Linked DNA regions of Homo sapiens: region 2 is linked to region 1. Evidence: promoter capture Hi-C in 16 types of primary human blood cells and fetal thymus (Javierre and others, 2016). All regions are on one chromosome and are shown on one strand. The core of a region is centred on a gene start or on the middle of the fragment in contact, and the rest is flanking DNA. Distances in the headings are between cores, read along the strand shown.

The links. Contacts are between HindIII fragments. The CHiCAGO score rates a contact against its expected background, and 5 or more counts as called.
Region 2: a fragment that was not itself captured here is called in contact with the fragment with the promoter of CMIP in region 1 in 2 of 17 cell types (neutrophils and fetal thymus); the score reaches 6.4 in neutrophils.

Annotation. Positions count from the first base shown.
Region 1 is chr16:81,443,339-81,447,329 of GRCh38, forward strand. CMIP (c-Maf inducing protein) reads left to right here and starts at 1,470. Exons shown (of 21, transcript NM_198390.3): 1 at 1,470-2,203. The coding sequence starts at 1,904. RefSeq lists enhancers at 311-843, 3,008-3,773, 3,774-3,991 and silencers at 1,053-1,152, 1,263-1,612, 1,683-1,732, 2,163-2,462. The HindIII fragment of the contact is 9,361 bases long and covers 1-3,991 here.
Region 2 is chr16:81,316,152-81,319,749 of GRCh38, forward strand. All of the region lies in intron 1 of GAN (gigaxonin), which reads left to right. Among named protein-coding and RNA genes, the nearest start is that of GAN, 3.0 kb to the left of the region's middle. The HindIII fragment of the contact is 2,901 bases long and covers 1-2,804 here.

The DNA of each region.
Region 1 (3,991 bases), core at 220-2,719:
CATGCTTGGTGGTTTTCTCAAGGCTGTTCAAGCTCAAAACTGGAAGGAAATGGCAGCAAATTGTGGGGAGCTAAGGAATTTCTAACTTTCTAATCTAATTGTGCCTCCCCAAGGAGGCATCTCCTGGGCAGGCTGGATGTGAGTCTTCTTTCCTTGGTGAGGGATGCAGCCTGGGACCTGCCTTTCATCCCCTGCCTGAAACCCTGGCCAGGCTCGGGGAGAGGGTCCTCTGGGGAGCACCTTCATGCTGCCTGTTCTTGGGAGAGGGGGGGTGAATAATTTCCACCAACGGCACAGATGCTGTGGATATTCCGCAGTGTTCACGACGCAGTTCAACACACGCTGCACACATTCATGTGTTCACTACAGAGGCGCCTTCACTTAAAAAGGCAAAAATCTAGGGTTTTAACGTTATTAGCTGCAGGAGCACGTGGAGATAAGAAAACCTGGCTGAGGAGCTGAGCATTTGCTAGGTGGCCTTAGGTGCCGGCTGCTTGTGATGGCAGAAAGGGAGCTTTTTGCATCCAGGCTGCAGTTCCTGATACCCTGGGTCACAAGAGAATCGAATATGGTTCTCTCGTGGGCTGGTGCTGGGCCTGTGAACTCAGATAAAATGACCAGGTGGGGTCCCAGGGAAGGTGAAGTAGGGGGAGCTGCTGGGGTGCGCACAAGAGGGGTGGCTGTGTAGGTTGGGGGGTGCTTTAAGTGGGTTCCTAGAAGAGGCTCTGTCTCCCTGGGCAGAAGAAAGAAGGGGGATGGGCGGACCGTCCCCTCTCTCCAGAAGGTTTGAGGACCCCCAAGGCCAAAGCCAGCAGACGTCAAAGGCCAGGAGTTCGAGGCCGGCTGGGTCCCGCAGTGGGAGACAGGGCAGGGTGGGCTCATCCTCCGGATCACCGCGGGGACACTTTCAGTCGGGAAGGCGTCCCCGTCCCACGGCCCCATCTGGCCAGCCCGCTGGACAGCCTGGACAGCGGAGGGGGCGTCAGGGGTCGAGGGTTCCAGTCCCCGTCCTTCCACCCAGCCCCCGGCCCTCGGGTATCCTTCTTTACCCGTCCGAGTCCGGCCCGGGGGCGGCGGGGGTGGGTGAGGCGCGGGCCCCCAGGCTCCGGCAGCCTGGCTGGGCTCCCGCCCGGGCACCCGCGGGGGCGCGGCTGGCGTGACGTCACGCGCCCCGCCCCCGCGCCCCGCCCCCTCCCCACATTCCAGGCGGGGCGGGCCGGGACCCCGCGGGGCTCGCCCGCCCCAGCCCCCTCCCCAGGGGCTGCCCCTCCCGTCGGGCCGCGCCTCCCCGTCGTGGGCCGCGACCCCGCCCGGACCGCGGACTCCGCCCGCGAGAGGCCGAAGCCGCCGCGGCCGCCGCCGTTGCCGCCATTGACGTCAGAGGGGCGGGCACATGACCCTGCGGGGACCAATCGCGCGGGCGCCCCGGGCTCCGGGAGCCCGGCGCGCGGCCCGCCCCGCCCGCGGCCACTCTCGCCCGGACGGCCGCGCGGACACACGCTCTGTACACACGCGCGCGGCGGCGCGGGGCCCCGAGACACGCCCGCCCCCACCCCGCCGCCCCCACCCCGGCGCCCGCCCTCCGCGCCTGGCCCCGGCCCGCCCTCGGCCTCCCCCGCCCCTCCCCGTCGCCCGCCGAGCCCGGTCAGCCGCCGCGAGCATGCACCCGACGAGCTAGGAGGAAGCCCGGAGCCCCGCAGGAAGCGCCGAGGCCGGCCCAGCCCGCCGCACGCGCCGCCCCCCGCGGGCAGCGCCCCCTCCCCTGCGGGCGCCCCCAGCCCCACACCCCCCCACCTTCCCGGGGGGTGGGGGGGTGCGGGCCGCCGGATCCGGGGGCCCCGCCGCCCCAGCAGCCCAGGACAGCCCCCTCTCCCCGCCCCCAGCCCCCTCCCCCGGCGCGGCCATGGATGTGACCAGCAGCTCGGGCGGCGGCGGCGACCCCCGGCAGATCGAGGAGACCAAGCCGCTGCTGGGGGGCGACGTGTCGGCCCCCGAAGGCACGAAGATGGGCGCCGTGCCCTGCCGCCGGGCTCTTCTGCTTTGCAACGGGATGAGGTACAAACTGCTGCAGGAGGGCGACATTCAGGTCTGTGTCATCCGGCACCCGCGGACCTTTCTCAGCAAGATCCTCACCTCGAAATTCCTGAGGCGCTGGGAGCCGCACCACCTAACGCTGGCCGACAACAGCCTGGCGTCCGCCACGGTGAGTGGCTCTGCGCGGCTGCACCCCCGCCTCTCCTCGGGGCCCGAGATGCGCCCTCCCTGGCTGCCCCCTGGCGCTGCACCTGGAGCCCAGGGCCTGGGGGGCGGTGGGGGGTGCCGGGGGAACGGGGAGAACCAGGGCGCCTCGCTCCTGGCCTGCTCGCGGGGCTCGATTTTGGAGTCTGAAGCCCAAACCAGCCGACCGGGCTCAGGAGAGACCCTTAAAATGCTGGAGACTCGGCCCACCGCCAGGCTGGGTGCCTGGGGACCTTCTGCCCCCAGCTCTTGTGTTTCTGGTGGCTGGGACTCGAGGATGGACCCGACGCTGGGCCCTGATGGTGGTGGGGGTTCTCTCTGGAAGCCCCTGGCCCATCTGGATCTGAGGGGTGGGGGAGGGGAAAACAAAATACCACCCCTCAGATTTAAAAAAAAAAACAAACAACACAACAAAACCTCCAAACCCCCAAACCCAAAGAATTTCCAGAAGCCAGTTTCTCTGTTTGGTTTACCCGTCCTTTATTCTCTTTCCTGCCAGGGCTGGCAGGCAGAACGGGGTGCTTCCCTTTCTGAAAATCTCATTCGCACATTGAGAGGTTGGAAGTGGAGGGGGAGGGGGCAGTGGTCCTGGAATATCTCAGGACCCAGCGGTGGTCGAGTTCTAGCCTAGAAGCTGCTTGGTGGAGCCCTGGTCCGGCATTGTCTGTAGAGTGTGTGTATACGTGTGTGTTTTGTTGCTGGAGGTTTAATTTTGTTATTGTTTTTAAATACATGGGTAGGACTGGGTCAGCTGGATGAGTCGGAGAGGAAAAACCATTGATCTGTTTCTGAAATCAGATCTGCAAATGGTGGCCTTCTTCGTACGTGGAGAAAGACAGCTGTGGTGGGGTCGAGGGGAGAGTGGGGGTGGCGGGTAGGAGCCTGAACAGGATGCTTTGTGTTTTGAAACAAGGACAGTTTCAAATACCGGCTGTGGCTTGGGCCTGAGGCTTGCCGTGGGGGTCCCATCCTCATTGGGGGTGTAGCTTGTCTTCCCCAGAATGCACACTCCTCCCTGGGGCCACCGTGATCCTGTTTACTAAGCGCAGTGGGAGGGGGCCGAATCCACTGCCTGCCCACACCTGTGCCAAGAAAACCCAGCCAGGAAATAGGGTGTCGCTTACATGGCATGTCACAAACGTGTAGCGTGTGTAGACATTTCCCTGGCATCCATGTTCCCTTGGCGGTGTGTCACAGGCCATGACACATGCCCCAAGGAATGGGGAGGGGGGAAAAGTTAGCTGAAGAATCCTACTCTTTGAACCAGTCCCCCACCCCCCACCCCAGAGCGTTGCAGCCCTCGAGGACTTTTATTCTTAATTTGGGGTCCGACATGCTTAGAGCACCTATTTTCTCTTTCCTGTGGGCACGTTGGTGCAATATCTGCAAAGACTCCTTTTTCAGGGAGGATTGCTGGTCGCGGGGAGGCGGCCCAGTCCCCGGTCAGGCTGGTGCATGTTCTCAAGCCCGTCCCGCGCCACAGGCCGCAGCATTTGGCTTTCCAATGGATGGAGGCGGGAGAGAGCCTCCGAAAATTTGCCAGTACGGAGTGTTTCTGATGTGGGGAGGAACTGGTGACCGCGGTGCCCCCTGCCTGGATTCTGGAGACCCCAGATCTGGCTTCAGAATTTTCACCTGGCTCAGGGGGACTTTATTGGGCTTTTTTTTTTTTTTTCCTCTTACACTCCACAAAATGAAGGGTTGTTGGTGGTGGGGTAGGAAAATGGTTAGAAGGAACAGTGACCTGCCATGG
Region 2 (3,598 bases), core at 104-2,603, 130 kb before region 1:
TTTCTTTTAGCAACCTTCTTGCAAACTAGGTTGCTGTTTTAATAAAAGGAAAGGGGGGAATGCTAAAAACTGGAGAAACTGACCAGTAAGCTGGTTAAATATAAGCTAGTGGTAGAGAATATCACTACAATTGACAGGTCAGAAAAAGCAAAATGATGTGTATTCTTAGCGCTTTGTCCCAGCAAAACCACCACGCACGCTACACTTTTAACCTTTGCATTGGGGAGATATCTGTGCTAAACTTAGAAGAAATTCAAGTGCCCTTGTAACTTCTGGTTTCTCTTGGATTTGTTTTGTGAATCCATTTGCGCTCTTTGGCGGTGGGGAGTGTGGAGGGGTGGGGGGGCGGGGCGGCAGTAGGGTCTGGGGTAGCATCGTTAGTACAGAATTTGGATTGCTAATGTGACAGACAGCTTCTAGCTGGCAGTTCCGAGGTTTGAGCAACCCATCCCAAATTGGAGTCAGCAGACCAAAGTCTTCCCTGTTTGGGAAAATGCTGAAGAAAACTACTTTAGATGCATTATTGTTATAGTTCTTTAAATGGCATCCGTTTGGCTTAAAAGAAGTAAATTGCAAATTGCCGAATCCTTGCTTGTTATCCTTGTTCGTTTTTCTCCATAGCACTTACCACTTTGACGTACCCCATATTTTACACATTTACTTTGGTGGTCTTTCCCAACCACAGTGTGACCTCAATGAGGTCGTGGTGTTTTGTTTTGTTTTTCGAGACTGAGTTTCACTCTTTAGCCCAGGCTAGAGTGCAGTGGCGTGATCTCGGCCCACTGCAACCTCCGCCTTCCAGTTTCAAGCGATTCTCCTGCCTCAGCCTCCCGAGTAGCTGGGATTACAAACGCCCGCCACCACGCCCGGATAATTTTTGTATTTTTAGTAGAGTCGGGGTTTTACCATGTTGGCCAGGCTGGTCTCGAACTCCTCACCTCGTGATCCGCCCACCTCGGCCTCCCAAAGTGCTGGGATTACAGGCGTGAGCCGTGGCACCCGGCGGTGTTTTCTTTTATTCACTGCTTTACTCTTTGCACCCAGAAAGAACTGTGCCTATCAGTTAATGTATTGAATGAATGACTGCCTTTCTTTCTACCACAGCAAATGTGTACATTAGAAAATTGGCACCATCACATTTTCATAGTACACAGACGCTCAGTTATACCTAATTGAGAAACGCACTGGATTCAGAGTTTGAAGACCCGCTTTGTGCTTCCAGCTTTTACTCATATTAGCTGTGAGTTGCTGGTAGATGACAAGGCTTCAGCTCACTAATCTGATGAATGAGGGATAAAAATGAGTCTTCTCATTTAATCACACCTGTGAAGAAATACGTAATAGTGTTGACACCTCATAGGTCTGTTCCCATGTCTTCAAAGGTAGTACCCATTGAATTAGGAAATATCTGTAGTCCGGTTCTTTCACTTTCTAAATAAGAAAATAGGGGCTCAGTGGACATTAGTGACTTGTGTTATGAGGTTATTAGTACTTAATGGTTGAACTAGGATTAGACTCCAAATTAATTACGGCTAACCGCCTTCCTACTCTTGCCCTACCACGTTAGAGCATTACTTGTATTTCACCGTTCTCTTTGTGTAAACTTTACTGTTAGCTGGCTTACAATATCTTAGAATTAAAATGTTTATCAAGCACTTTTACATACTGTGTCATTTTGGTTTCCATTTTCAATCATCTTTAAAGAGAAGGCAGATTTTTTTTTTTTATGTTTTGTGGATAAACATGAATCAGTCAATATGTGTTTCATCAGTGACAGATGAATTGCTTTAAGTTTATTTGGCTATTGAAGTGATAGAATGTCTTGGGATGTTTTTAAAAATTATCAATTCCGAAGCTGTTTCAAAGTAATTTGACGAATCTGTATCACTAACTAGAAAGAAATTTGTTAATTTTGTATTTTTACTGGTAATTTTAATACCAATAATATTGGGCTTTTATAATGTACTTGTTTGTTTGAATAGCACTTTAGAGAATTATATTGAAACAAAATATATTTATGTATTCTAGAACTTGATGTTTCTTATCTTTCCCTTTTGAAACTTAAGCATTTAGATCTGTGATATCATTAATCTGTGAATTGAATGTTCAAAAGTTTGGTAATCTCTGAAGTTTTATAAAATTCTGATTTTGTTTAATGTCTGTGTTTGGCCTAGTGTTGGTAACTGTCATAAGTGGTTGTGTGATTGTGTGGTTTAGAAGCAGTGGTATGGCCTGGCATGGTAGCTCACACCTGTAATCCTAGCACTGTGAGAGGTGGAGGCGGGAGGATCGTTTGAGGTCAGGAGTTCGAGACTAGCCTGGGCAACATAGTGAGACCCAGTCTGTACAATAATAAATCATGTATATAAAAAATAGGAGCAGTATTGTCTTTTGCTTACTATGTGCCCAACAAAGGAAGCCAGTCCAACTCTGTCACACTGGGAATTAAAGTAACTTGTTTGGCATACTTTCTACTTAATATAGAAAAGTCTTTTGACTTATTGGTTTAATCTTTTATTCTGCTTTATCTTTGGTCTAGCCCTTGTTTTTCCTGCTGACACCCTTAGCAATCCTACCATATTAGAAAGATTTTAAATATAAAAGGAAAAGGCCAGAAAACTCAGCTTTGGCAACACACCCTCATGGTCAGCTCAGAGAGGACTGGCATCCCCGGGTTATGTAGAGAGAGCACGTGTCATGCAGCCCTAGGGTGCAGCTGCTCCAGGAAGGAGGCAGGACCTCCTGCGGTCCCTCAGCTCAGTAAATGGCATGCATGCCCCTTTCCCAGCATGCTCCTTTCCCAAAGCTTTTCCTCCTTTTGGTTCCTGGGTGAGATTTTCTCTTTGGTTTGTTGGGGAAACTAAACCTAAAAGTAGTTGACAGGCTGGGCGCAGTGGCTCATGGCTGTAATTACAGCACTTCGGGAGGCTGAGGCGGGAGGATCCCTTGACCCCGGGAGTTCCAGGATGCAGTGAGCTATGACTGCCACTGCACTGCAGCCTGCCTGGGTGACAGAGACCCTGTCTCTTAAATTAAAAAAAAAATAGATATAGATTATATATATATATATATATCTAACAACCTTTCTAAGAATGGCAAAACCGAATTCATAGTCATAAGCACCCACAGAGCCTTTTCTTTCTCATCAACTCTGAGACCTTCTGGGGAAAGCTCCCTGCGGCTTGCAGGAAATTTATTTTTCTTTTGAATATTACAGTTTGGTCTGCTTCATGTCTGAGGCTCTTCCGATTCTGGCACAGTCCCATTGATCTGATGCAAAGTTCAGACCCATTTCTCTCCTGAGCTGTGGTTCTTGGTGAGTAATGTATGTGAAAAGGATTTGAAAATGAACGGCTATGTGCTTCTGCAGTGACATTATGGTGGCTCTGTACAGGTTTCCAGTCCTGTGATCACTTGTAAAATTTAGGGTTTTCTGGAGACCTATTGCAACAAAAGTTTGTTTAGCTCTCAGTCCTGGAGAGAAAATGAAAAAAAAGATTCCTAAGATTTTTAGATCCTTTGATGAGTCAGCTAAGAATGTAAGTGGCTTCCCCCCGACCCCCCCTTATTTTTTGAGAGAAGGCAGGTCTAGTGAGGA